7 separate regions of the Homo sapiens genome follow, and all the other regions are linked to region 2. The links are contacts of gene promoters, found by promoter capture Hi-C in blood cells and fetal thymus (Javierre and others, 2016). All regions are on one chromosome and are shown on one strand. The core of a region is centred on a gene start or on the middle of the fragment in contact, and the rest is flanking DNA. Distances in the headings are between cores, read along the strand shown. Region 1 has its middle 24 kb from the start of SMCHD1. Region 2 holds the start of LPIN2 (lipin 2). Region 3 overlaps NDC80 (NDC80 kinetochore complex component). Region 4 overlaps NDC80 (NDC80 kinetochore complex component). Region 5 overlaps METTL4 (methyltransferase 4, N6-adenosine). Region 6 has its middle 15 kb from the start of TGIF1. Region 7 has its middle 46 kb from the start of TGIF1.

Evidence for each region. Contacts are between HindIII fragments. The CHiCAGO score rates a contact against its expected background, and 5 or more counts as called.
Region 1: a fragment that was not itself captured here is called in contact with the fragment with the promoter of LPIN2 in region 2 in 3 of 17 cell types (non-activated CD4 T cells, monocytes and naive CD4 T cells); the score reaches 6.5 in non-activated CD4 T cells.
Region 3: a contact is called between a fragment that was not itself captured here and the fragment with the promoter of LPIN2 in region 2, in 3 of 17 cell types (naive CD4 T cells, non-activated CD4 T cells and total CD8 T cells). The highest score is 8.3, in naive CD4 T cells.
Region 4: a contact is called between a fragment that was not itself captured here and the fragment with the promoter of LPIN2 in region 2, in 2 of 17 cell types (non-activated CD4 T cells and neutrophils). The highest score is 7.6, in non-activated CD4 T cells.
Region 5: a fragment that was not itself captured here is called in contact with the fragment with the promoter of LPIN2 in region 2 in 2 of 17 cell types (neutrophils and non-activated CD4 T cells); the score reaches 8.6 in neutrophils.
Region 6: a contact is called between a fragment that was not itself captured here and the fragment with the promoter of LPIN2 in region 2, in 1 of 17 cell types (naive CD8 T cells). The highest score is 6.4, in naive CD8 T cells.
Region 7: a contact is called between a fragment that was not itself captured here and the fragment with the promoter of LPIN2 in region 2, in 1 of 17 cell types (non-activated CD4 T cells). The highest score is 6.7, in non-activated CD4 T cells.

What each region holds. Positions count from the first base shown.
Region 1 is chr18:2,629,800-2,633,501 of GRCh38, reverse strand. No RefSeq gene overlaps it. Among named protein-coding and RNA genes, the nearest start is that of SMCHD1, 24 kb to the left of the region's middle. The HindIII fragment of the contact is 9,719 bases long and covers 1-3,702 here.
Region 2 is chr18:3,011,086-3,014,882 of GRCh38, reverse strand. It overlaps LPIN2 (lipin 2), which reads left to right and starts at 1,739. Exons shown (of 20, transcript NM_001375808.2): 1 at 1,739-1,796. RefSeq lists a silencer at 1,349-2,298. The HindIII fragment of the contact is 8,581 bases long and covers 1-3,797 here.
Region 3 is chr18:2,584,542-2,588,733 of GRCh38, reverse strand. NDC80 (NDC80 kinetochore complex component) reads right to left here. Exons shown (of 17, transcript NM_006101.3): 7 at 3,532-3,621; 8 at 811-904. Among named protein-coding and RNA genes, the nearest start is that of NDC80, 15 kb to the right of the region's middle. The HindIII fragment of the contact is 559 bases long and covers 1,205-1,763 here.
Region 4 is chr18:2,607,208-2,611,412 of GRCh38, reverse strand. NDC80 (NDC80 kinetochore complex component) reads right to left here. Exons shown (of 17, transcript NM_006101.3): 15 at 2,583-2,713; 16 at 552-654. Among named protein-coding and RNA genes, the nearest start is that of NDC80, 38 kb to the right of the region's middle. The HindIII fragment of the contact is 1,351 bases long and covers 896-2,246 here.
Region 5 is chr18:2,559,412-2,563,172 of GRCh38, reverse strand. The region is part of intron 3 of METTL4 (methyltransferase 4, N6-adenosine); the gene reads left to right. Among named protein-coding and RNA genes, the nearest start is that of METTL4, 10 kb to the left of the region's middle. The HindIII fragment of the contact is 4,359 bases long and covers 120-3,761 here.
Region 6 is chr18:3,433,035-3,436,816 of GRCh38, reverse strand. It overlaps a transcript of TGIF1 not described here. Among named protein-coding and RNA genes, the nearest start is that of TGIF1, 15 kb to the left of the region's middle. RefSeq lists a silencer at 1,898-2,108 and an enhancer at 2,543-3,043. The HindIII fragment of the contact is 5,991 bases long and covers 1-3,782 here.
Region 7 is chr18:3,402,456-3,406,718 of GRCh38, reverse strand. It overlaps the pseudogene RPL21P127. Among named protein-coding and RNA genes, the nearest start is that of TGIF1, 46 kb to the left of the region's middle. The HindIII fragment of the contact is 2,317 bases long and covers 505-2,821 here.

The DNA of each region.
Region 1 (3,702 bases), core at 17-2,516, 380 kb after region 2:
TTTCCAGGTGCATGGTGCAAGCTGTCGGTGGATCTACCATTCTGGGGTCTGGAGGATGGTGGCCCTCTTCTCACAGCTCCACTAGGCAGTTCCTCAGTAGGGACTCTGTGTGGGGGCTCCGACACCACATTTCCCTTCTGCATTGCCCTAGCAGAGGTTCTCCATGAGGGCCCCACCCCTGTAGCAAACTTCTGCCTTTGCTATGGCTATGCTATGCCTGGGTATCCAGGTGTTTCCATACATCTTCTATAATCTAGGCAGAGATTCCCAAACCTCAATTCCTGACTTCTGTGTACCTGCAGGCTCAACACCACGCAGAAGCTGCCAAGGTGTGGGACTTCCACCCTCTGAAGCCACAGCCCAAGCTGTACGTTGGCCCCTTTCAGCCATGGCTGGAGTGGCTGGGAACAGGGCACCAAGTCCCTAGACTGCACACTGCAGGTGGGCCCTGGACCCAGCCCACGAAACCACTTTTTCCTCTTGGGCCTCTGGGCCTACGATGGGGGAGGCTGCCGTGAAGTTCTCTGACATGGCCTGGAGACATTTTCCCCATGGTCTTAGGGATTAACATTAGGCTCCTTACTACTTACGCAAATTTCTGCAGCCGGCTTGCATTTTTCCCCAGAAAATGGGTTTTTCTTTTCTATTGCATAGTCAGGCTGCAAATTTTCCAAACTTTTATGCTCTGCTTCCCTTATAAAACTTAATGCCTTTAACAGAACTCAAGTCACCTCTTGAATGCTTTGCTGCTTAGAAATTTCTTCTGCCAGATATCATAAATCATCTTTCTTAAGTTCAAAGTTCCACAAATCTCTAGGGCAGGGGCAAAATGCTGCCAGTCTCTTTGCTAGAACATAACAAGAGTCACCTTCACTCCAGTTCCCAACAAGTTCCTCATCTCCACCTGAGACCACCTCAGCCTGGACCTTATTGTCCATATCGCTATCGGCATTTTTATCAAAGCTATTCAACAAGTCTCTAGGAGGTTCCAAACTTTCCCACATTTTTCTGTCTTCTTCTGAGCCCTCCAAATGGTTCCAACTTCTGTCTGTTACCCAGTTCCAAAGTTGCTTCCACATTTTGGGGTATCTTTTCAGCACTGCCCCACTCTATTGGTACCAATTTACTGTATTAGTCCATTTTCATGCTGCTGATAAAGACATATCCGAGACTGGGAAGAAAAAGAGGTTTAATTGGACTTACAGTTCCACATGGCTGGGGAGGCCTCAGGATCATGGTGGGAGGTGAAAGGCACTTCTTACATGGTGGTGGCAAGAGAAAACGAGGAAGAAGCAAAAGCAGAAACCCCTGATAAACCCATCAGATCTTGTGAGACTTATTAACTATCAGGAGAATAGCACGGGAAAGACCTGCCCCCATGATTCAATTAACCTCCCCCTGGGTCCCTTCCACAACACGTGGGAATTCTGGGAGAGAAAATTCAAGTTGAGACTTGAGTGCGGACACAGCCAAACCATATCACTGACTTCCTGAGTATCTTGCTAACTCCTATGTCCTCACAATCCTTTTTATTGATTTCAAGTTGTTTCCCTGGGAGATCTGCCTTTCTCCTGAATGGTTTGACCCCAAGTGACAACATATGAAGAAAAATCTAACAAATACCGATGAAAGCCAGCATGGTATAGTAGTTAAGAACTGAAGTCAGATTGCCTGAATTTGGATTTTGCCATTTACTAGAGAAGTTTGCCATTTGCTAGAAGAACTGGGTAGATATATTTAACCTTTCTGTTTCTCAGACTGTCAGTGATCAAGTAGATAAAAAATAAATAAATCACAGAAGAACTTAGTAATTGATAAGATAGATCTGGTTGATAACATGCCAATGTATACATCCTGAAATCTGAATATGCTTTCCTTTCCATTGCCCACGAACACTCACTAAAACTATTAGGCCATAAAGAAAAACCTCAGCAAGGTCCAAGCAGAATAGTGAAGACAGCATTCTGTGATTACAATGCAATACAACTAGGAATTCATAAAGTTTGGGGGTTGTGTGGGGTGGGAATTCCTTCTATGTGGAAATTCAAAACTATTTTAAACAGTTCTTACAGCAGAGAGAAACCACTAACTGAAACTGTAGAAAATGAATACACAGCACATAAAAAATGTGATATGCTACTAAAGTAGAAACCAGAGGAAAATTCATAGGTTTAAATACTTATTTTTTTAAAAGAATTAAGAATGTAATCAAAATTTAGGGGGAAAAACAACAAAATAAATGGAAGCAAAGCAGAAGGAGTGGGTTAGTAAAGAAAAAAGCAAACATTTAGTAAGATAGAGAACAGAAAGACAGAAGTGTTAAGTTAAAACAATTTTTTTTTTTTTTGAGACAGGGTCTCGCTCTGTCACCCAGGCCGGAGTGCAGTGGTGTGATCATGGCTCACTGCAGCCTCAAAGCCTCAATCTCCTGGGCTCGAGCGATCCTCCTACCTCATCCTCTGGAGTAGATGAGACCTCAGGCATGTACTGTCATACCTGGCTAATTTTTACTTATTTATTTTATTTAAATTTAATTAATTAATTAATTAATTTTGAGACGGAGTCTTGCTCTGTCGCCAGGCTGGAGTGCAGAGGCACGATCTCGGCTCACTGCAACCTCTGCCTCCCGGATTCAAGCGATTCTCCTGCCTCAGCCTCCCGAATAGCTGGGACTACAGGTGCACGTCACCATGCCCAGCTAATTTTTGTAATGTTAGTAGAGACGGGGTTTCACCATGTTGGCCAGGATGGTCTTGATCTCCTGACCTTGTGATCCACCTGCCTTGGCCTCCCAAAGTGCTGGGATTACAGGTGTGATAATTTTTTTTAAATTTTTTGTAGAGACAGGATATCACTATGTTGCCCAGGTTGGTCTTGAACTCCTGGGCTCAAACGATTCTCCCACCTCGGCCCCCCAAAGTGCTGGGATTACAGGTGTGAGCCACCACGCCTGGCCAAAAAAAGGCAATGTTTGGGGATGGGAAGCACAAATTCCCCAGTGGGTCATTCAGAGTGATGCTAATGGAGCCACTTTGGTTCTACTCCTCAGTTCCCATTCCCACATATCCTTCCTACTGGGGACACAGCTCCATAAAGAGTCTCTGATTTAATACACGTGTTGCAGCCTATGGAATGATTCCTTCAGAGAGTTTCCTGGAAGATGGCATTTCAGTTGCACCTTTGGATGTCTGTTCCAACATTCTAGAAGGCAAGTACATGATGTGACCAGTGGATCCCATGGTCATAGGTTCACTCCTGTATTTCCTTCACTAATCAAATGCTATGTGTATGGAATTCCATGTTTGTGGACCAGGCATTCCATGAACCCCAGGTAATGGTGAGGGTTGGGGCTCTACAGGCAGAAAAGGCAAACCCTTACTCAGAATAGTAATCCATCCTTGTGAGGATGAAGTGCTGGTCCTTCAAGAGTGGAAGAGGCCTCATGAGTCAACCTGCCACCAAATAGCCAGTTGGTTTCCTCAAAGGACAGTGCTGTATCTGGGGCTCAGTGTTGGTCCCTACTGCTGGGGAATATGGACATTTACAAGTAGCAGTAACTAGATCAGTTTTTGTGCGTGGAAGTTCTTGCTACAGGGCCTACACATGGCTTCCATCTCTGGTAGCATGGCCATTCCACCCACGTGCCTGTCACACCAGTTCTATCCATGTCAACTGCTGAGTGCTTTTGTCAGTGCCTCTTCC
Region 2 (3,797 bases), core at 490-2,989:
CTAGTGGTCTTGTGCCAGTGAAACTACCTATGTTTCTGTAGGGCCTTGATTACAGATGGGGCAAAACTTGATCGAGTTTCACAGAAAAGCAGAAGGAACTTCAGTGAAGAAGTGGTCGCCTGCTCCCTGAATCCAAGCACTGCCCAGCTACACCAGGCACTGGTGGGAAGAAACTGGGCTGCAGCTGGATCCTTCAAGGAGCAGCTTTGTGTATGCAAATGCCTATTTCAGTACCCTTAGAACTGTATAAATGATCACACACAAGATGCACCTCATAAATTAACTGCCATTTATATAGAAGTAACATAGGCTTCTGTTCATTACTTTCAATCATAGAATAGTAATAGAATAGGCTGCAAATTAAAAACCAGTGTGCACCAATAGTATATAGCACCAGCAATCCAGTTTTTTTTGTTTTTTTTTTTTTTGAGACAGAGTTTCGCTCCCAGGCTGGAGTGAAGTGGCGCAATCTCTGCTCACTGCAACCTCCGCCCCCCGGGTTCAAGTGATTCTACCGCCTCTGCCTCCTAAGTAGCTGGGATTGCAGCCAACATGCCCGGCTAATTTTTGTATTTTTAGTAGAGGCGGGGTTTTGCCACGTTGGCCAGGCTAGTCTCCAACTCCTGACCTCAGGCGATCGACCCGCCTTGGCCTCCCAAAGTGCTGGGATTACCGGCGTGAGCCACCGCGCCGGGCCCCATTTCTTTTCTTTCTGAGACGGAGTCTCTCTGTCGCCAGGCTGGAGTGCAATAGCGCCATCTCGGCTCACTGCAATCTCCGCCTCCCGGGTTCAACTGATTCTCCTGCCTCAGCCTCCTGAGAAGCTGGGATTACAGGCACGCGCCACCACGCCCGGCTGGTTTTTTGTATTTTTAGTAGAGACGGGGGTTTCACCATGTTGGCCAGGCTGGTCTTGAACTCCTGACCTCAAGTGATCCGCCTGCCTCGGCCTTCCAAAGTGCTAGGATTACAGGCGTGAGCCACCCATTTCTTAAAAAGTATATTTTAATGCTGGGGACGGTGGCTCATGCCTGTAATTCCAGTACTTTGGGAGGCCGAGGTGCGGGGATGCTTGAGCCCAGGAGTTGGAGACCAGCCGGGGTAACAGAGCGATAAAAAGAATAAACAAAAAACAACAGAACCCCGGCATATTTTTAAAAATGAGTTGTGTAATAGGATTTTTTTTTTTTCGGTGGAGATGTAAGTAAGCAAAGGAGATGTGCTACTAGTGATCAAAAGGGGATTATAAAACATTCATTCCCTAGACTTTTTTTGCACTTTAACATTCCTTTTTGGCAATTGGGCTCTCAGTCCCACGTGACCTGCCGCAGGGTTGCCATGGGGACCGGAAGAAACTTTTTTTTTTTAAAACAAAGTAAGGCTCCTGTCGCCCGAGGCACTAGAAAATCGAGGCCCCGCCCTCACTTGGCCAGGGGCCCGGGCGCGCAGCCCAGGGACTGGGAGCGGTGAGAAGCCGCACGCCTGGCGCTCGGCGGCGGGGGCGCGGCGCGCGGCCGGGAGCGCGCGTCACGTGGCTGGGGCGGGGCCTGCGCGCTGCCCGCCCGCCAGCTGCCGGCTCGGCCGCCGCAGCCGCGGCGTCCCATTCATGAGGGCCGCCCGACTCAGCTGCGGCCCAGGCGGCTTCCAAGGCAGCGGCGGCTGCGGGCGCTCCGACCCCGCGCGCGCCCCCGACCGGCCCCGCCCCCTCGGCTTCCCTCCCCGGCGGGTCCTAGCCGTCGCAGTCCAGCCGCCGCCTGCCCTCAGCCGCCCGCTGGCCGGGAGCGGAGCCCCTGTGGGTAAGTGGGCGCGGGCCGGGCTCCTCGCAGGCGTCCCTCCGGGGCTGGCGGTGAGTGTCTGCGCCTGGGGGCTTCCCTTGGCGCGGGCCCGGGGCTGTCCTGCCGGAGGCCGGGACCCTCCGGGGCGGCGCGGGTTGAGCCGCCCCTCCTCGCGCCGCGGTCCCCGCTTCCCGGTCCTCGCGTCCCAGTCCCCGCCTCGCCGCGACCGCGCCACGTAGACGCGGCCCCTACCGCCGCCGCCGCAGGACGGACCGGCGGGGTGCGCGGGGAGCCGGGGGCGTCGGGGCGTCAGTGGTGGCTGCTGAGGACTCTGAACCCGCGCAGTTCCCTCGCCGCCGCCCTGGGGATGGTTACCCGAGACCACCCCTACCCCTGGGTTTGGGGCGCGGAGGGGAGTGCGGAAGGCGCGCGGGAGGCCGCGTCTCCATCCCGCCCCCGGCCCTGCGGGAGGGGGCGCCGGGCACGTGATCTGCGGCGAGGCGGGGGCCGCCGAGTTGCTGGTGTTTCTTCCCCGCCGCGCTTTGCCCCGTACCTCCGCCTTCAAGCTGTGTGGACCGGATTCAAATGTGGTTAGTTTTCTCAAAGCCCCCCAGCCCCCGGTGCAGATCTTAATTTGTGAGGAACACGTTCAGATACAGTTTGTACTGAGAGCCTCTCTGTCCACTTCTAACGCCAGCGGATCACCATTTTCTCCACTCGCCTGAACATTTTAAGACTCTTTTCATTGAAAATTCAAGATGACATTTTTTAGGCATAATTATGCAAACCAGTACCAGAAAGATCACCCTTCCTTTCCGAAAAGTACTGGAACTCTGAATACTTGGAAATGCTTTGAAGGACTACTTAGTAAATGGCCAAACTAATTTTTAATGCACATTTGGGGCTTACCCATTTTTTTTTTAATTGAAAACGAGGCTCTAGACTTGGTGTCAAGGTAGGTCCTGTTGAATGAAGTTCTTTACCCAGTAGTGATGATGGGTGTTACTGTTTATTAAAACTTGGCCTGGCTAGATTATAATGTTTTGACAATACAAAGTCGGTTTTGAAATACATTTTGAAATATTTACGAATTATTTAGTGGCCCATACTGGTTTATGTTTTAACGGTCTGGTGTTGATCGTTCTTAGTGGCTTCAGATTGAGAAGAAGTGGCAGGTGATGCTGAAGCGGGGGAGAAGCGGCAGAGCCGGCCACACAGTGCAGGGGATGGAGACAGGTGCTGGGCTGGTCCTCCTGCAGCATCCTCAGTTGTTGGAGGGCAGTCATCCTCAGGCCGTACCCAGCCAGAGAAGAAAAAGAACAGTGTGAAGCCACGTGTGATAGCCGTCCAACATCGGCTCTTCCCTCCAATTACATTGTAGTTGATTGTGGTATGTCAGACTGAAGTATCTCTTTTATTTCGAGACAGAGTCTCACTCTGTCGCCCAGGCTGGAGTGTAGTTGCGCGATCTCCGATCACTGCAATCTCTGCCTCCTCTGTTAAAGCGATTCTTGTGCCCCAGCCTCCCGAGTAGCTGGGATTACAGGCATGAGCCACCACACTCAGCTAATTTTTGTATTTTTATTAGAGACCGGGGGTTTCACCATGTTGGCCAGGCTGGTCTCGAACTGCCGACCTCAGGTGATCCGCCCCCCTCGGCCTCCCAAAGAGCTGGGATTACAGGCGTGAGCAACCGCCCCAGCCAGACTTAAGGTATCTCCATGCCCAACTTTTGATAGAGGTAGCCATAGAAAGCTAGAAATGAAACGACAGGTTCTGTTTTAACGTTTGATGGCACAGTCGAGAGTCAATAGGCACGCATTATGCTTAAGAGAAGCTGGAAATGAAGTGTTTGAAAACCCTTTAATACTATAGTAAAGCACTGTTAAGAAGCAAATAATAGAGTCAGCTGGGGCTTTGTCTTCTTTATTGCTAGGAGAATGTAGCAATAGAAGTTCTCATCGCCCTGTATTGCACTTTTGGTTTTAAGGACTGGACCCAGAGTTCCTGAAAGCCAAACTC
Region 3 (4,192 bases), core at 235-2,734, 430 kb after region 2:
AAAACAAAGCCATTTATTTTGCTCCCTTTCCCATGTGAACAAGCTGAAATTGTCCTGGTTACTCTTCAGGAAGATACAATCCCAGGGGACTATAAGGGAATGCTTTCAGCTTTTGTGATAATACTGGCAAAGTGATTGATTCCATTGTTGGAGGAATAGCTTCACCTCCATTTATCTATTTTACCTTCCATTTTGGCATTTTATATACAAGACTATTTCAATAGAAAGAATGAAAATGTAAAATAATACCTCTGGAATGTTTTAGAGTTATCTAGTAAATACTGTATGTCACTAGGTTGTAAATGAGTAAAAAAAAAAAAAGATTTTCCTTACATATTTGGAAGTATAATGTCTTGTTAACTTTTTGCCACAAATTTTGAAAGAGACCTTAGGTCTTTTGACTAATTGGTGCTTTAATTTCTCAAATAGTAAGCAAGGACAACGTAGGGATATTATCCCCCAAGAGGAATAGCATTTGCTAATTATTGTCTATGCTTCTGGTAGCATGTTTGGTATATTATGACTTTATTATACTGTCATCTACTGCTGCTACACTTTGTCAGGAGGTCAAGTATTTTATTAAGGCGCCACAGACAGTAAGATGTTATGGCTCAGGTCTGGCTCCAACACTAGTATTCTTTTTGTTTAACTTCTCTCCACCAAAGAAACCACAAAGATAAAAATCAGTAGGCATCCAGATACATTTAAAGTAAGTAGCTCATATGAACACTGGATATGGTAAATAAATTACCACTCCATGAGCAGAGTGAAATGACCAAAAGCAAGCACCCTAAGAACGAGAACACTTACTCAGTTTTGACTGCAGCTCTGCATTCATCTCATCAAAGCTGTCGGCACCACTCATAAAACTCTCATAGCATTTTATGGTGTAGTCCAAAAACAACTATGGGGTTAAGCAGATTTTAGAAACAAAGTTATGATTCTCTATTTGGTCTGTTTCACTTTTCTAGGTGGAAATTTATATTTGAATTTAAAAAATAGTCAGAAATACTAAGTAGTCAGATGAACCTATAAATAAGAGACAAAAACCTAGGCTATATAATTATGCTATATGGACTTATTTAGTCTGCTACTTCTAAATATGAATAATGAGGATAAAATAACACTTAAATTTGGATAAAGGCAATATTTAAAAACAGCCATACCTTCAGAATTTTGAGAAGGTCAAACAAACAGGGAAGCTTATTAATAAATGTAATTCAACATAAAATGCACAAACTTAATCATCTTTAGGAATAAAGCACCTGATGAAAAATTTAAATAAACTGCTGATCATCTAAGTCCAATTGAATTGATAAGGTCTAATTGTAAAAACCCAAATGTAATTAATGAAGGCTACAATTACATTGTAACTTCAGGCTAAAAAATGAATTGCATGATGAGTAGCAATCTAAACAGTACAATACTAGAATTCTTAACATTTATCCAAGAGAAAATAACACTATATTTTGCATTCATGAGATGTTTTGGTCACTGAGAATGTAGACTTTATGAGAAGGCAAGAATGGATGATCAGAATTTTCCATACCTTAGATGAAGTAAATATCCCTCAAGACAAACCAATTCCCTTTGTGCTAATTCATTGCTTATTAAGGTGACCTTGAAGTGAGTACCCTGAATAGGCAGTCTGAGTATTCCTGTAACTGGAAAGGTGTATCACTGATGGTAAATTAATACATTTTCATTCTCCTTCAGATCAGTTGCTGTGAATTTGGTTAAGACTGAATCAGTTTCCTTAAGCTTGGTCAATTTTGATCTTATAGGTTTAAAAATATCGAGTTTGTGGACTCACAAAGCTGAGTATCGGAAACTTGTGAAGCCAGATACTCTGACAACTTTCTTTAATTACAAAGAGTACTTTATAGTTTCCCATGTGCTTCTCTATATATTGTCATTTGAAATAATAGCTATAATAGCTCAGAGAGCAAGAATAATTTTTTAACCTTTAGGATGGATGTCAAGACATTTAACACTTTTTTTTTTGAGACAGGGTCTCACTTTGTCACTCAGGCTGCAGTACAGTGACATGATCTTGGCCCACTGTAGCCTTGACCTCCTGGGCTCAAGTGATCCTGCAGCCTCAGCCTCCCAAGTAGCTGGGACCACAGGCACGCACCACCACACCCAGCTAATTTTTGTACTTTTTGCAGAGATGGGGTTTCGCCATGTTGCTTAGGCTGGTCTTGAACTCTGGAGCTCAAGCAATCTGCCCACCTCGGCCTCCCAAAGTGCTAGAATTACAGGTGTGAGCCACTGTGTCTGGCAAGACATTTAATACTTAATAGATGTTGTAATGTACTTGGGTGAAAACTGAGGGGTAATTAGAGGCAGCCCAATATACATATTGCAATGTGGGAGGATAATTTTCTCAAGGGTGGGATCAAAGGTTTTCTAGGAGCCTTTCCAACTGGGATCATTGTTGAAGTAGTAAAGGCGCATGTTTATTTTTTGTTAAAAAGAAAAAGGCAATGATGCCAACACTAGTCAGTTGATGTATCTTTGAACTACATCCCAGGCAGTCATAAAAGATGGGACTGAAATTATTTCCACTTTTCTTTTGTGACAAAAGTTTCAAAGAATGAAGGTTAGAATTAGAACAGAGAATAGTTTTTCTTCTAAGTGGCCCATGTGATGACTAGTTTTTTATGTATGCTAGGAAGTATTAATGTATAATCTTAATGTTTCCTTTATCTCAACCACTTTTGGAAGTGGCGACTCTGGGCTAAGGGGCAATATGTCTAATGAAAAAGGTCAAAACAAAATAAACAACCTATCCACGTGCAATATCTTAAGACTTAACCTATTATGTTTTGTGTTGACAAAGAATTACATTAAAATAATGTTGCCAATACTGATATCTTCATTCCACGACATAAAGGAGGAAAAGAAACATTACGTCTATAACATATAACATGTTATGATTTAATTCCAATCCCCTTCCATTTTTTACTTAGTTAAAATTTTCAAATTTTTGTGCCTAGTTATTTTTAAGAAATTATAATGTGATTCAAACAGATCCATTAATATTAAAAAAAACAAATTTATAATGTTTTCAGGAAGCAAAAAAACAACTCTACAGAAGAATATACAGACAATCCCTGACTTAACGATGGTTTGACTTCAGATTTTTCAGCTTTCTGATGGTGCAAAAGCAATGGAGTAGAAACCATCCTTCAAGTATCCATACAACCTTTTTGTTTTTCACTGTTAGTATAGTATTCAATAAATTACAAGAGCTATTCAATACTTTATTATAAAATACGCTTTGTGTTAGATTAATTTTGCCCAACTGTAAGCTAGTTTAATTGTTCTGAGAATGTTTAAGGTAGGCTAGGCCAAGCTATGACGTTTGGCAGGTTAAGTGTATTAAATGCATTTTTGACATGATATTTTCACCTTACAGTCGGTTTATTACTCTATCATAAGTCGAGGGGCATCTGTATTAAATCCAATAGTGACACAATAATATCAAGGCAATTCATTATTACAGTTTATGATAATACATGGTACCTTATTATGCATAATTCCATCTTCAGTTTCTTCTCCCCAAGGCTGCCCATCATCAAATAAAGGTGAGCTTTCTTTCATGGCAGTATGTATCTAATTAGTACACAAGCAAGAAAAGCAAGTTGATCTGAAAAACACAACTTTCATTTTTTGGCAAATTCTGTTTTCAGTGTCAATTTTAGAAGCATTTACATTATTGTGTAACTAAAAGTCTCTTTTGATAGGTTATTATATTGAACATTAACACTTTTGACTTTCTTTCGAATAAAACAATTTGCAGGTATCCTTTCGATAATTTCAAAACCCTTTTGTTTAGTAACTAAACTCTTCAGGATCTAGAAAGGATGGACTCTATATTTACTTCTGTTCTACAGAGAAAAATGTTGACCTTTATGCTGTTATTAACCCAGTAAGTGCAAATATACACATTTTAATGCAACTTTAACTAAGAATCCAAAACAGAATTGCCACATAAAAGGTGAGCCAATAATAATTTTTCTCTTTGAGCTCAATTCTGGTGCTCAAATGTTAATCGAGTAACTCCTTCAGTATGTACAATATGAACTTTAGATGAAATTTTACAATAGAAAATCTTTAGAAATACAATAGTTTAAACTGCAAGTGATAACATAAATTATAGCAAAACATTCAGATGGTTAAAATT
Region 4 (4,205 bases), core at 322-2,821, 400 kb after region 2:
TAATACATAACATCATATGTTGTTTATGCAAATACAATAGATTACTTTATAAAATGCACAAGTGGGCTGGGTGCGGTGGCTCACGCCTGTAATCCCAGCACTTTGGGAGGCCGAGGCAGGTGAATCACCTGAGGTCAGGAGTTTGAGACCAGCCTGGCCAACAAGATGAAACCCTGTCTCTACTAAAAATACAAAAATTAGCTGGGCGTGGTGGCAGGCTCCTGTAATCCCAGGTACTTGGGAGGCTGAGACAGGAGAATCATTTGAACCTGGGAGGTGGAGGTTGCAGTGAGTTGAGACCATGCCATTGGACTCCAGCCTGGGTGATGAGAGTGAAACTCCGTCTCAAAAAAAAAAAAAAAAAAAATGCTCAAGTGTTCCCCTGCATCACGTTGCCACATCACTAGACAAGATTCTTCTGATAAATTTTTGCCAGATCATACTTTAAATAGAAATAAAATTCATCATTTAATTTATATGGAAGAAAGCAGAAATGTATCAAAGTTTTAAAAACCTTTCTTAGAACGTAGGAAAGACCATCACATACTTACCTCTACAGACCCAACATGTGTAGCAACCATCTCTAACAGACGTTGCAAGTTATTTCCCACTTTTCGTCTTTCTTCAGTCGTGGTTTGCACAACTAGTTGGTATCTGTAGAACAAAAACTCTTGTTTAAGTTGTCCAGGAAAAAAATTAATACATCCGTTCTAGTTAGCTCACTTCCCATTTCCACATTCAAAAAAACCAAACTGTGATTGATTTATGTGCTGCATACTATATGTATAATTTGTAGAGGTCCCACTATCAATAATTAAAAGAGAAATATAAACATTTTCAAAGATCCTTTGCAAGCAACAAAACAAAAGAGCACCATGTTTTAACATATAAAGCTTTGGAGCGAAGGGTTGTAACTGAGTCTCCAAAGGGATTGTAAACTCAAATGCTTTCTGGGCAAGACAAAAATTTGCAAATGGGGGAGTAGAAGTCTTACTTATAGGAATTCAAATTCAAATTAAAACCAATAAAATTGCAGGCCAAATAAACCTCAACTGAGTTTTCTCCCCTTGGCCTACAAATAAAGAAGTGAAGAGAAATGACTTTCACAAGGCTTGTACTTGCAATCTCAAAATAGAAAATTTTTCAGTTATTTGAGGGCAACTTAAGACTTAAAAAATGTATATTTTACATAAATGTACACGGAGCCTATGGATTAACTGTTCAGTATATTGATTTTATATAAGTTGCTCAAGAGCATTATATACACAGAGACAGAAAATTATTTAAAGAAAGGATGCCACTGTTTGTAGTTGTAGTTATTATATAGTGTGGCTAAAATTTTTCCTATGTAAGTTTTAAAAATTGTGAGGGAAACTGAGAAGGACGAGATCCTGACAACGTATAATTTGATTATAAAGTACTTCTAAGAAATACAACAAAATATATAGGCAGTTCTGTTGTGTTTGTTTGGAAATATGAGCGCAATCTGGCAAATTTCATGTTTGCTTATGCCAGTTTCTTTCCTGAGAAATACCTGGTGAATGCAGAAAACCGCACCCAGCTGAATCCAGATGCAAAAGAATACACACATCTAAGCACACACATCAAATGTACAGCAGCTACTCAGTGCACTGCATATGTAATGAGCCACATGCATCCAGTACTGATGGTGCAATTTCCATCCCACTTCAGATAACCCACTTTCTACCTCTTTACAGTAATTCAGTCTGCAGCCTTCTGAATGCCCATTTCTCAAATCAAACTAGAGGTCTTTTTATTATGAAGGGTCCCATATTTATTGTAGCATTATGTATTTCTTAGCCATTAAGTATGTGTATCATTGTGCTAACATTTTTGTTTGATTCTTATCTTTTGTTTATATGTGTTACTGATGGAGTTTTTAATTTTTTTAGAGATGGAGTCTTGCTATAGTGCCCAGGATGGCCTTGAACTTCTTGAACTTCTCAAGTGATTCTCCTGTCTCGGCCTCATGAGTAGCTGGGACTACAGGTGTGTGCCACTGAGCCTAACTACTGATGAAATTTTAGTGCTGTGCCTCAATATCAGTTTTCCCGTAGGTCCTGTGATTTTTATGGCATGATTTTGCACAGCATGGTAACTATTTGGAAGGCATATGCTGTGTTATAGTAGACTGACTATAATTTATAGTATAATTACATTTTACTATATAATATACATAATTTCTAGGAAATAAAAACATGAGCTCAGTGGAATTTATTAAAGCTTAGTGGAATTTTATTAAAATTCACTAACAGCCAAATTTATTTGAATTGATTTAAAATTTTTTATGTTGTTTTCAGGGATTAAAAGCCATGTATTAACTAGATCTAACGATTAATGATTTCTTGGTGGACAGTAACTCTAATACTAACAGAATGTATCTGTTGATAGGGAAAGTTCTCGAGTTATAAGCAGTTGTACTTAAGTTCTATATACCATTCTTTCCATCCTAAATAGCTGTATACTATAAATTAAAGCAAATAAAAATAGATCTAATTTTATGGAACTGTTAAATTAATAATCTGAAAATAAACGTATAAATCTTGGTGAGATAAACTTACTCCCGCTGAACAGCATCTAATTCATTCATAGCTTCACTGAGCCCCTGGTTAACAGTACTTTCTAGCAGGTGCTTGTGTTTCTCCAAGGACTCAAGCTCACTGGCACATTTTTCATCCTCTTCCTCTGCTTCCTATCAGGATAAAGTCACGGTTATGGGTTTCTTGATATTCACATTCTGTATACTCTAGGTGGATTTAAAACAATTATAAAAAGCACTTAAATAAAATCAGGTTGCATCATTTGTATTCTCAAGATGCTTACTGTTTTACATGCAAGAGACTTTAAAGTGCTCCTTTGGGAATCCTGTATTATAAAAACAAATGCGGCTGGGCATGGTGGCTCATGCCCGTCATCCCAGCACTTTGGGAGGTTGAGGTGGGTGGATCACTTGAAGTCAAGGGTTTGAGACCAGCCTGGCCAGCGAGGTGAAACCCCATCTCTACTAAAAATACAAAAATTAGTTGGGCATGGTGGCATGCACCTGTAATCCCAGTTACTCATGAGGCTGAGACATGAGAATCGCTTGAACCCAGGAGGTGGAGGTTGCAGTGAGCTGAGACTGTGCCATTGCATTCCAGCCTGAGCGACAGAGCGAGACACTGTCTCAAAAAAAAAAGGTGATTTTATTATTTTTTAATTTGAAAATATTTATTAAAATTTAAAATATATATAAGCTTTAAAATATATATAAACTTTAATTCGATGCTTCAGAAATTTATCAAAGGGAAGGAATGGAAAAATACATAAAGATATACAAAGATATTCACAGCAACATTATTGGTCAGTTGAAAATTTAGGGAAAAAATTAATAAGGGGCTAGCTAAATAAGTTATATATATATATATATATATATATATATATATACTATGTATATATGTAAAATAAAAACACAATAGAAGGATTGCTCTCTCTACATTTGTATGAAAAGATATCCATGATATCTTTTCTTGAGAAAGACAGATTATGAAAAACTATGTATAATTTGGTACCATTAAAAAAATATATGTTTGTATATCTGGAAGACACTCCCTAAACTTTAACCATTGTTTCTAGTGATGGGATTATGGTGGATTATAAGGTACATTTCAGTTCCCATTTTATACATTTCTCTCGAGTCTCTATTGTTTCTAATGAGTATTTATATTATGAACAAAAAATACTTTTTCCTTTAAAAAATTAAAAAGTCACTTTATTCTCAAAGATGCAGAAACTAAATAAAATTGGTTCAGTTTTTAGGGCGCCAAGGTCAACTGACTAGAATTCAGTAGTGAAGTTTTTTAGTTTTTTGGTGAGTTGGAAGTATTTACCAAATGTGACCTTTTCAAAAAGCTTGCATAGGATTCATTCAGCAGTATTTTCCAGTCTGAACAACAGGAAATTTTATAATATTTTAATTAAGATTTTTTCCCATGAGCTTCAAGGAAGCCTTATCTAGGTCCTTATTTCACAGATGTATTAACTATGCACAGGCAAAGTAGCCCAAATTAATCATTTCTAAGGTTTGTGAAGATTAAGTATCATAAAACCTTTCATTTAAGTGCGTCAGAGAGTAAACTCAAGCATTGTCATGGAGGATGTGTGAAAAAAGAAAAATGATTACCAATGTCTTATATTTCACATTT
Region 5 (3,761 bases), core at 1,050-3,549, 450 kb after region 2:
GAGAGTGGCAGAAGAGAGCATGAGTAATGTGAAGGATATGTTTCTAGAACATAGCGATAAATGAGATCAGAGAGTTAAAGAAATGAGAAGAAACAGAATGAACACAAATATTTTAAGCTTAATTTTTTTTTCCATGGAGCACCTTTGAAATGGCAAAATTCAGTCTGGAATTCGGTCTTGTTGAATTAATGTGATGGTAGAACCCTGGGTTTTTTTTCCCTTTCTTTCTTGTTGTAGTAGAATATACATAAAATTTTCCATTTTTAACCATTTTTAAGTGTAAAATTCTGCGGCATTAAATACATTCACAATGTTGTACCACACCACTGCTGTTCATCTCTAGTACTTTTTCATCATCCCAAACTGGAACTCTACCATTATTTAATAACTCCCCATCCCCCCGTCCCCCAGCTGCTGGTATCCTTTATTCTACTCACTGTCTCTGTGAATTTGCCTATGGTAGATATTTCATATAAGTGGAATCATACAATGTTCATCTTTTTGTATCTGGCTAATTTCATTTAGCATAATGTCTTCAAGGTTCATCCATGTTGTAGCATTTATCAGAATTTCCTTTTTAAGGGCGAATAATATTTCATTGTTTGTATATACTACATTTTGTTTATTCATTTATTTGTTCATGGTCATTTGGGTTGTTTCCACATTTTGGCTATTATGAATAATGTTTCTGTGAACATTGGTGTACAAGTATCTGTTTTGAGTCCCTGCTTTTTTTAGGTATATACCCAGAAGTGGAATTGTTGGATTAGCTTTTATGTTTAACTTTCATTTTTTCTTTTGAGACAGGGTCTCACCGTGTTGCCCAGGCTGGAGTGCAGTGGTGCAGTCATGGCTCACCGTGGCTTTGAACTCTTGGGCTCAAGTGATCCTCTTGCCTCAGCCTCCTGAGTAGATGGGACTACAGGCATGTGCCACCACGCTCAGCTAATTTTTTATTTTTTTGTAGAGATAAGGTCTTAACTATGTTGCCCAGGCTGGTCTTGAACTCCTGGGCTCAAGCAGTCCTCCTGCCTTGGCCTCCCAAAGTGCTGGGAATACAGACAAGAGCCACTGTATGCAGCCCCTGCCCCCCTTTTTTTTAATCATAGCCATTTTGACGGATATAAAGTGGTATCTTATTGTGGTTTTCGTAAACACATTGGGTTTTAAATGTTCTGAAGACAGCTGAATACACAAATGTTAAATCCCTCAATGTGAGCAGTTTATCTGTTAATTTTGGAAATACACTTATTTTCTGGAAATGACACTTGCAAGGTTAACTGCAGAAATACCAGGAAAATCCAGGGTATTTATATCTATAAAAAAATTAATAAGATTTACTTTCACTTTAAAGTTTACATGAAATTAGAGAATAGAATTTCTTGAATTCATGTATATTCTAATTGCTAAATACTTGTATTAATCATAAATACAAATTATGAAATGTGCTGCAGAATGGAATCAAACTCTTAAAAAGTAGTAGGACAGAATATTTGCTGAATCAGATTTAGAGGTTTGACTATCCGGTAGTGCCAGTCCTGCCCATCCCCATCCTTTTCTCATCACTCCTCTTTTTAATAAATTTGTTTTCTTTCCCCATATAAATTTTAGGATCAATGATAACATCTAGTTAGAAAACCTGTTGCCATTTTTATGGCATCAAGTTAAATTTCTAAATTAAATTAGGGCAGTGTTGACATCTTTAAGATGTTGGTGATTCCGCCCCAAAACATGAATGTATTTTTCCATTTGCTCACGTTTTGTTTTGTCGTTGTGTAAAATTTTCTTTATAAAGGCCTTGCAGGTTTCTTGTTAAGTTGTAGTAATTTTTTGTTGTTGTATCTCTTGGATTTTCCAGATATAGAACTCTTTCAAATAGTAGTAATTTTACTTATACCTTTCCAATTATCATGTTTCTGATTTCTTCTCTAATTCTGTAGGGTGGAAATTATAATACAATATTAAAGAATATTTGTGTGCATAATAAACATAAGTAATATATGTGAGCATATTTACTTTGTCTTGTGCTTGACAAGGGGGATAATTTCATCATTAAGCATAATACTGGGTTTCAACTGAGTTGGAAATAACATGTTAGGCATATATGGAGATTGAACAGATTTTTTTTTTCTTTTTTAAAAATTTTTTTCCATGAACCTATTGATCCTATTGAAGGAGACTGAATAGATTTTTCCTATGATTCTTCCTCAATTAACCATCCTTGCATTTGCAGAATATATTCCAAATGATCATGATGTTACTATTTTTAAAATGTTCTACTGGATTTTCTTTTTTGAGACAGAGTCTCGCTCTGTCGCCCAGGCTGGAGTGCAGTGGCCCATCTCCGCTCACTGCAAACTCTGCCTCCTGGGTTCATGCCATTCTCTTGCCTCAGCCTCCCGAGTAGCTGGGATTACAGGCGCCCGCCACTACGCCCAGCTAATTTTTTGTATTTTTTTAGTAGACACGGGGTTTCACTGTGTTAGCCAGGATGATCTCAATCTCCTGACCTCATGATCTGCCCGCCTCGGCCTCCCAAAGTGCTGGAATTATAGGCGTGAGCCACTGCGCCCGGCCTCTACTGGATTTTATTTGCTAATGTTTTATTTGGGACAGTCATAAGAGAGATTGGTCTGATATATTTACTTCTTCGGCCTTATATATAATTATATATGTAAATATGTAGGATGTTTGCACGCTGGAGAACTTATTAGCCCTCTCGTGTTGGAAGCTAGAAGTTTTCCTTCTTTTTACTTTCCAATTTTCTGGAGCAATAGAAAAATAATTGGGATAATTTGTTCTTTAAAAGTTTGATAAAGTTTGATAGAACCCCCACTTTGTAACCATCTCAGTGTGTTGCTTTTTGTGGTGGATACTTTTTTGGCAACTTTACTTTTTTCCTCTTTTCTTTTTTCTTTATTTATTGATAGAAGAATTTAATGATGAGACTTTTTCTCTGGGCACAGCTTTAGCAACATCATGTACGTTCCGATGTGTTGTGTTTTAATTGTCATGGGGGAAGGTTTTTAGTAACAAAATCAGGTTTTTTAATAGAGAACCGGATTTTCAGGTTTTTTGTTTCTATTGATGTCAGTTTTCACAAGTTTTATTTTCTAAGAAATGTGTTCATTTCAGGCTGGACATGGTGGTTCATGCCTGTAATCACAGCACTATGGGGAGGCCGAGGTGGGCAGATCACTTGATGTTAGGAATTGGAGACCAGTCTGGCCAACATGGTGAAATCCCATTTCTACTAAAAATATAAAAAAATTAGCCAGGTGTGGTTGTGGGCACCTATAACCCCAGCTACTTGGGACGCTGAGGGAGGAGAATTGTTGGAACCTGGGAGGTGGAGGTTGCGGTAAGCCGAGATCATGCCACTCCATTCTAGCCTGGGTGACAGAGAGACTCCCTCTCGAAAAAATAAAAAACAAAAAACAGAAATGTGTTCATTTCATCCTAGTTGTCAAATTTGTTAGCATGAAGTCATGTTATCTTATGCTTTCTTTTAATGTCTGTAGGATCTGTGGTGATGATAACTTTTTCATTGCTTTTATTAGTAATTTGTGGTTTTTTTAAATAGGTAAAATATACGTATCATAAAATTTACTGTTTTAACCATTTTTAGATGTACAATTTAGTGGCACTAAGTACATTCAGAGTGTCATGCCATCATTACCACATCCAAACTGAAACTACACATTAAATAGTAACTCCCCACTCCCCCTTCCCCTGCTGCCTGGTAACTAGTATTCTACTTT
Region 6 (3,782 bases), core at 986-3,485, 420 kb before region 2:
TTTTGAGTCTCCCTCTATCTCCCAGGCTGGAGTGCAGTGGCACCATCTTGGCTCACTGGAACCTCCACTTCCCGGGTTCAAGAGATTCTCCTGCCTCAGCCTCCTGGGTAGCTGGGACTACAGGAGTGCGACACCACAACCGGCTAATTTTTGTATTTTTAGTAGAGACGGGCTTTCACCACGTTGGCCAGGCTGGTCTCGAACTCCTGACCTCAGGTGATCCACCTGCCTCAGCCTCCCAAAGTGCTGGAATTACAGGCATGAGCCACCATGCCCGGCTACATTCAGGGCTTCTTTTATTTAATCTGGGGCCTATAGATTTACATTCTAACCTACATCCACTCCAGACATTATTTGAATGTTCACAGAAACAAAGCAAAACACAAATTAAAATTTTGTGCCTCTCTTCTGGGATTCAGCTTCATCTGCTGGATAAAGTTTGACTATTTGTCAGCCAAAATGTAAATAATGCTTATGCCCAAGTTGTGGGATTATGGCTCTTCACTGTTTTTAGCCTTTTGCAAGTTTTCTGCAATTAGCTGGTACTGTCTTACTTTTATCATCATAAAAAGCAATAGGCATTATTTTTTAAGTTAATAAAAAAAGTTGCTGAAATAGTGATATTCTCACTTGACAAATATTGACAAATATTCCTGAGGGCTCACTATGTGTGAAGTATTAACCTTGCTGGTGTGAAAATAAGTAAACAAAGAATAAAAGAGGAACGTGCTCAGGCGTTCAGAGGAAGAGAAAAAATGAGTAGCTTGGGAATTTCAAAAATCGAAGGAAGGCCAGGTGCACTGGCTCACGCCTGTAATCCCAGAAACTCAGGTGGCAGAGAGACAGGAAGATCGTTTGAGCCCAGGAGTTCGAGACTGTTATGAACTATGATCATGCCACTGCACTCCAGCCTGGGTGACAGAGTGAGACCTTGTCCCTAAATATATATACATATATATTTAGTCCTCCTTTATCACAAACCCTTACCAACTAGTTTGGGGAAAAGGAGACCTTTTGTTCACAGCTAGTGAGAGAGCAACTCATCAATGCATATGCAAAGTTTTGAAAATGCGTACATTCTGTGGCCGAGCAATTATTGGGGATTTATTCTAAAGTTTGGGAGTCTAACTTGACAGCTACAGAAGGAATAGCAAAAGGGAAACCTCAAAAGATACACTGAGGTCAAGTTACTAGATTGAGATGGGATCAGTGCCTTATTCTATAAGAAATGATGACTATGTGGCAACAGTTGAGGAAGATGAAGTTTGCAATTTTCTCCAGAATCAATTAGAGACAGAGTCTGGTTAATAGGGTTTTAAGGCCGGGAGCGGTGGCTCACACCTGTAATCCTAGCACTTTGGGAGGCCGAGGCAGGCGGATTGCCTGAGCTCAGGAGTTCGAGACCAGCCTGGGCAACACCGGTGAAACCCCATCTCTACTAAAATACAAAAAATTAGCCGGACGTGGCAGCATGCGCCTGCAGTCCCAGCTACTTGGGAGGCTGAGGCAGGAAGGAGAATCGCTTGAACCTGGGAGGCGGAGGTTGCAGTGAGCCGAGATCACACCACTGCACTCCAGCCTGGGCAAGAGAGCAAGACTCCATCTCAAAAAAAAAAATATATATAGGGTTTTAAAAGATTAAAAGCCTGAAATTTAATTGTGCCTTTGAAAATGGAAATGAGTTTTTCACTTGGTACTTTAAGTTTTTAAAAATAAGACAAGATTGACTGTGCCTTGGTATTTGACACTTACATACAAATTACTACAGACACTTAAAGCATGAAAGACACTTTACCATTGCTTATACTGTAAAAAAGCAATGAGTAACCTTAATGAGAAGTGAACCCACTTCAGGCCAGGTCCATGCCAGAATGAAGACTGTATAAGTCAGCTATTTTACTTGGCTTTATTTTTCCTGTTCACATTGCAGAGGTCAAAGGGTGTGAAAGGGAAGAACTTGCAAAATGCTTGGTTCCTGAGGGTCACGGGTCACCAAACATGCTTGGGAAGTGTTATCATGAAGTCTTCGATGTTGTCTAATTACTGTAGTGTTTACCTCCTGAGCCTGCTCATAACTATATTTACTTATTTATTTTCGTTTTCTGAGACAGTCTCACTCTGTCGCCCAGACTGGAGTGCAGTGGTGCAATCTCAGCTCACTGCAGCCTGCGCTTCTTGGGTTCAAGCGATTCTCCTGCCTCAGCCTCCCGAGTAGCTGGGATTACAGGCGCATGCCACCACGCCTGGCTAATTTTTTTTATTTTTTTATTTTTATTTTTTGAGATGCAGTTTAGCTCTTGTTGCCCAGGCTGGAGTGCAATGGCATGATCTTGCCTCACCGCAACCTCTGTCTCCTGGGTTTAAGCGATTCTCCTGCCTCAGCCTCCCAAGTAGCTGGGATTACAGGCATGCACCACCACGCCCGGGTAATTTTGTATTTTTAGTAGAGACGGGGTTTCTACGTGTTGGTCAGGCTGGTCTCGAACTCCTGACCTCAGGTGATCCACCCATCTCAGCCTCCCAGTGTGCTGAGATTACAGGCATAAGCCACCGCACCCGGCCCAAGGCCCAGCTAATTTTTGTATTTTTAGTAGAGATGTGGTTTCACCATGTTGGCCAGGGTGGTCTCAAACTTCTGACTTCAAGTGCTCCACCTGCCTCAGCCTCCCAAAGTGCTGAGATTATAGGCATGAGCCAGCGCACCTGGCCCATAGCTATTATTTAAATGGGCTGTTTCTCACTTCGACTGGCAAGATGGTACAAGATCTCTGGTAGGGAAGGAGGCTGTTCCTTAAATGTTTTTATAGAATGAAACTGCATTTTGTAATCAGTTCTGGGGAAGACATGCTGATATTGTAGTTAAAGTATAAACCTGGGACTGTGAACCCTCATTTACTTTTTTTGTATATGTGGTACAATATACTACACAACGTAAAATATACCATTTTGACCAATTTTAAATATACAGTTCAGTGGCATTAAGTATATTCACTTGGCTGTGCAACCATCATGACTATCCATTTTCAGAACTCTTTTCATCTGGCAAAACTTAAATTCTTCAAGGTTACATTGAGCTATTATTAAACCAGAGCACTCCAGACTGGGTGATGGAGCAAGACCCTGTCTCTAAAATAAAAAATAACCTCTTTACCCATTAAACACTAAGTCATCGTTCTCTCCTCCCCACAGTCCCTAGTAACTTCTCTTCTGTATTCTAGTTCATTCTAACATGGAGGCTTTCCGTCTTAACCTCCATGAATTTGACTATTCTAGGTTTTTCATAAAAGTAGAATCACAATATTTGTCCTTCTGTGTCTGGCTTATTTCACTTAGCATAGTGTCTTCAACCTTCGGCCATGTTATAGAATATATCAGAATTGTATTACTTTCGTCTTGTAATTTTTAATCTTAAAGTGATTTTAGCCTTATAGAAAATTCATAAGGGCCAGGCGTGGTGGCTGACGCCTGTAATCCTAGCACTTTGGGAGGCTGAGGCGGGCGGATCACGTGAGGCCAGGAGTTGGAGACCAGCCTGGCCAACATGGGGAAATCCCGTCTCTACCAAAAATACAAAAATCAGCCCAGCGTGGTGGCATGTGCCTGTAATCCTAGCTACTTGGGAGGCTGAAGCAAAAGGAGTGCTTGAGCCCAGAAGGTGGAGGCTGCAGTGAGCTGAGATTGCTCCACTGCACTCAAACCTGGGTGACAGAGTGAGAATCAGAATCAGTCTCAAAAAAAAAAAAGAAGAAGAAGAAGAAGGCCAGGCGCAGTGGCTCACGCCA
Region 7 (4,263 bases), core at 414-2,913, 390 kb before region 2:
ATAAGAAAGGTGACATTGTAGACATCAAGGGAATGGGTACTGTCCAAAAAGGAATGCCCCACAAGTGTTACCTTGGCAAAACTGGAAGAGTCTACAATGTTCCCCAGCATGCTGTTGGCATTGCATAAACAAACAAGGGCAAGATTCTTGCCAAAAGAATTAATGTGCGTATTGAGCATATTAAGCACTCTAAGAGCTGAGATAGCTTCCTGAGACGCGTGAAGGAAAATGGTCAGAAAAATAAAGAAGCCAAAGAGAAAGGCACCTGGGTTCAACTGAAGCCCCAGCCTGCTCCACCCAGAGAAGCACACTGTGTGAGAACCAATGGGAAGCAGCCTGAGCTGCTGGAACCTATTCCCCATGAATTCATGGCATCATAGGTGTTAAAAAGATAAAAGATCTCTGGACTGTCAAAAGAAAAAGAAAAAGAAAAAACAAAAGAGAAATGTAAAGAACCTATGCACTTGAAGAATCAGATACTGAATTAACCAGTCAACTGAAGCTTCCCTGCCTATGAAGCTCTTGTTATGTCAGATAGTAAATGTCTTATTTTTAAGCGTTTTGGGTTTGGTTTTCCTGCTGCTTGCAGTCAAATTATCCTAATAAGGTGGCTTTCTACTTGTTCTCCTATCTTTCTTTTTATTTGTGTATTGTTGGTATCTTTCTATTATTACAAAATCTCAAAGTTAGTGTAAGATTTTGAAAAATACTCAACTCTCTTTTTTCCTCAAGATAACTTCCTCCTAAGGCCTTTGTTGCTTGCTGCCTTGATCTGCTACACAGCTATCACCCAGGGACTTCCCTTAATTACTTACCTCATTTGAAACCACTGTTTCCTGGATCCTCGTGTCTTTTCCTTGCTTTACTCTTTTGTATTGTTGAGGCACATTGCCAATTAATTTGCAAAGAAAAGATAATGCGGGAAGTGAATTTTCTGAGCCCGTGCACATTGGGTCCTGCAGGCAGATTGGCTTCCTTCACAGATATGGTCTCTCCATGCATCCTTCTGGCTGAAATTCCCTTTATAGAGGAAGCAAAATTTTTATCTCTACCCTTTTAGGGTTTTTTGGCTGAGCCTGATACTTAAATTGACATAAGCTATAGCAGTGGAAGAAAAGCATGCACATTTATTTAATGCAAGTTTTACATGGCATGGGAGCCTTCAAAAAGGAATGGAGACTCAAGGAGGCAGTTAGAGATAAACACAGAGATACTGAAGTAGACAACGCAAAGTAAATTGTGAAAATGTGACAAGGCAAAGGAGCTTGAGCTAGGGTGGTTCATTGGACAGAGAAGTGGCTGGGAGGATAAGGATTAGTCTAACATGGTTTGTTGGTACAGATTTTCCTTGGCCTCAACTTCTTGTCCTTGATGATGATAAGAGTGATATTTTCCTTCCGGTACAGGGAGAACATTTGTCACACAGGAATTTAATCATCTGCTTTTAATAAGCAGTAGGAAGGTCAGAGTGATCTTGTTCTTGCTGTTTTTTTCAAGACCCTTAACTCAAAATAGTCTATTTGCCAGAGTGGCATATTTATTTATTTATTTATATTTTTTGAGATGGAGTCTCACTCTGTCGCCCAGGCTGGAGTGCAGTGGTGTGATCTCAGCTCACTGCAACCTCTGCCTCCCGGGTTCAAGCGATTCTCCTGCCTCAGCCTCCAGAGTAGCTGGGATTACAGGCATGCGCCACCATGCCCAGCTAATTTTGTATTTTTAGTAGAGACGGGGTTTTGTCCATGTTGGTCAGGCTGGTCTTGAACTCCCAACCTCAGGTGATCCACCTGCCTCTGCCTCCCAAAGTGCTGGGATTACAGGTGTGAGCCACTGTGCCCAGCCTGAGTGGCATATTTTGAGTTCCTTTACCTCCACTGTGTTTCTCTAGTTATCACTTCCTGCTCTGTCTTCTAGAAGTTTATTGAAAGATTTAGATCACTGATGATGATCGGTGATCATCATTAGATCTTTCTTTTCTCTTAATTGACCTTTGCCCTTAGATTCTGCCTCTTTTAATTTCTTTTTTCTTTTTTTTTTTTTGAGACGGAATCTCGCTCTGTTGCCCAGGCTGGAGTGCAGTGGTGCGATCTTGGCTCATTGCAAGCTCCGCCTCCTGGGTTCATGCCATTCTCCTGCCTCAGCCTCCCGAGTAGCTGGGACTACAGGCACCCACCACCACGCCCAGCTAATTTTATTTTGTATTTTTAGTAGAGACAGGGTTTCACCGTGTTAGCCAGGATGGTCTCGATCTCCTGACCTCGTGATCCACCCGCCTAGGCCTCCCAAAGTGCTGGGATTACAGGCATGAGCCACCATGCCCAGCCTAATTTCTTTACTATTATTTTAATGGGATCTCAGAAGGATGATCACATAAATAATATGTCATTCCCCCATACTGAATGACAAATTTTATCCCTTTCTAGTGAGACTAATACATAATTCAGACTTTTAAACTGAGTCATTAGGTTGGATAATTCACATTACAGTACTCTTGGAAAGACTATCATTTTACTATTTCTAAAAATATATATTTTTAGCATATAATTAAAGGGATAAACTTTTTATAGGGAGTTTTCATCCACCACATCTCTTGTGTGGGACACTTCCTTTCCAGAGTGTTCTTTAAACCAGGGGACTAGAGTTTCTTTGACTGAACAGAACTGTAGAGCACATAAATAAAATGGTTGTCTATTTCCCATTAACTATGAATAATTCATTTTTTTATCATTACTGACAAAAATGTTACTGAACATCCAGGTCACTAGAAGTTCAGATTTATAGATACTATTTTTTTTTTAATTATTGAAAAGAAAAAAAAGCTTTTAATTTCCTTGACCACATAAAATAATATTAACGGACTACTTAAATGAGCTCATATATACAGGTTGTAAATTAGTATTTTTTGAGAAACTATGTGTCCCATAACTTTCATATATTCACCAATCACCAATTGATGCCTTCAACAATCTTTTTTTTTTTTTTTTTTTTTTTTGAGATGGAGTCTTGCTATGTTGCTCAGGTTGGTCTCTAACTCATGGGCTCAAATTATCCTCCTGCCTCAGCCTCCTGAATAGCTGGGATTACAGGCATGCACCACCATGCCTGTATCTTATGAAGATCTTATTTCTATCATGTTGCTGAGGAAATCGGCTACCCTAATTACCCTGTGTAAAGTCACATAGGAAAGAATTGACTGGGTTGGGGTTAATTTCCATTTCTGCTGGACCCCAAAGCCTATGCCCTTTGTACTATGTCATAGACACAAAGACAGGTGGGTACATCTGTTCCCATCTGTTTTTATTCCCCAGGGTTGTGATAGCAAAATATCACAGCTGGGTGGCTTCAGAACACAGGAATTTATCATCTCATACTTCTGGAGGCTGGAAGTCTGAAATTAATGCGTTGGTAGGGCCATGCTCTCTCAAAAGCTCTAGGGAGAATCTGTGCATGCCTTTCTCTTAGTTTCTGGTGTCACAAGCAGTGCTTGGCTTGTAGCTGCATAACTCTAATCACTACCTCTGTGGTCACATGGTCACATGACATTCTTCCTGTGTGTGTCTGTCTTCACATGGTTATCATCCTGTACCAATCATAGTGGATTAGGAGGCCTCCCCATTCCAGTATGATCTCATGTTAACTAATTAGATCTTCAATGATCCTATTTCCAAATAAGGTCACATTCTGAGGTTCTGGAGATTAGGATTTCAACATATGTTTTTTGAGGGGACCCAGTTCAACCACCACACCATCTTAATTGGGTTTCCTTGTCTAAAAGGACTCGATTTCAATCACTTACTGATGAATAAATGTATGATTAGCTAAAAATTCTCAAAATTAACTCATATAAATACCTACACAATTTCCTAAAAGGAGAGTAAAATTCCTTTTGAAGGAAACCTGATGTTTTCATCTTGAATCTGTATTGGAATCATGTCATTGAAATATTTCACACTAGTGGATGGTTTTTATTTTGAGTTAAAATATTGCAAAGATTAAAATGTACCCAGGAGTTACTGTCATCACATTAGAAGTAACAGAATCACATTCATTCCTAAAAAGCATAGTCTCACAGACAAGTAGTTTTAGAGTATTAAAACAATGCATCATGATAAAAACTAGATCTTTTTAGAATGTAAAGATTTCTTTGGAGTACTTCACTCTTTGTAGAATCTGAAGAAAAACAATAACTAAAATCAGTGTGGAGTTCACCTCAGTGCTGAGTTTAATTATTGTCTTGCAAATATTTACAATACTATTGTTTTA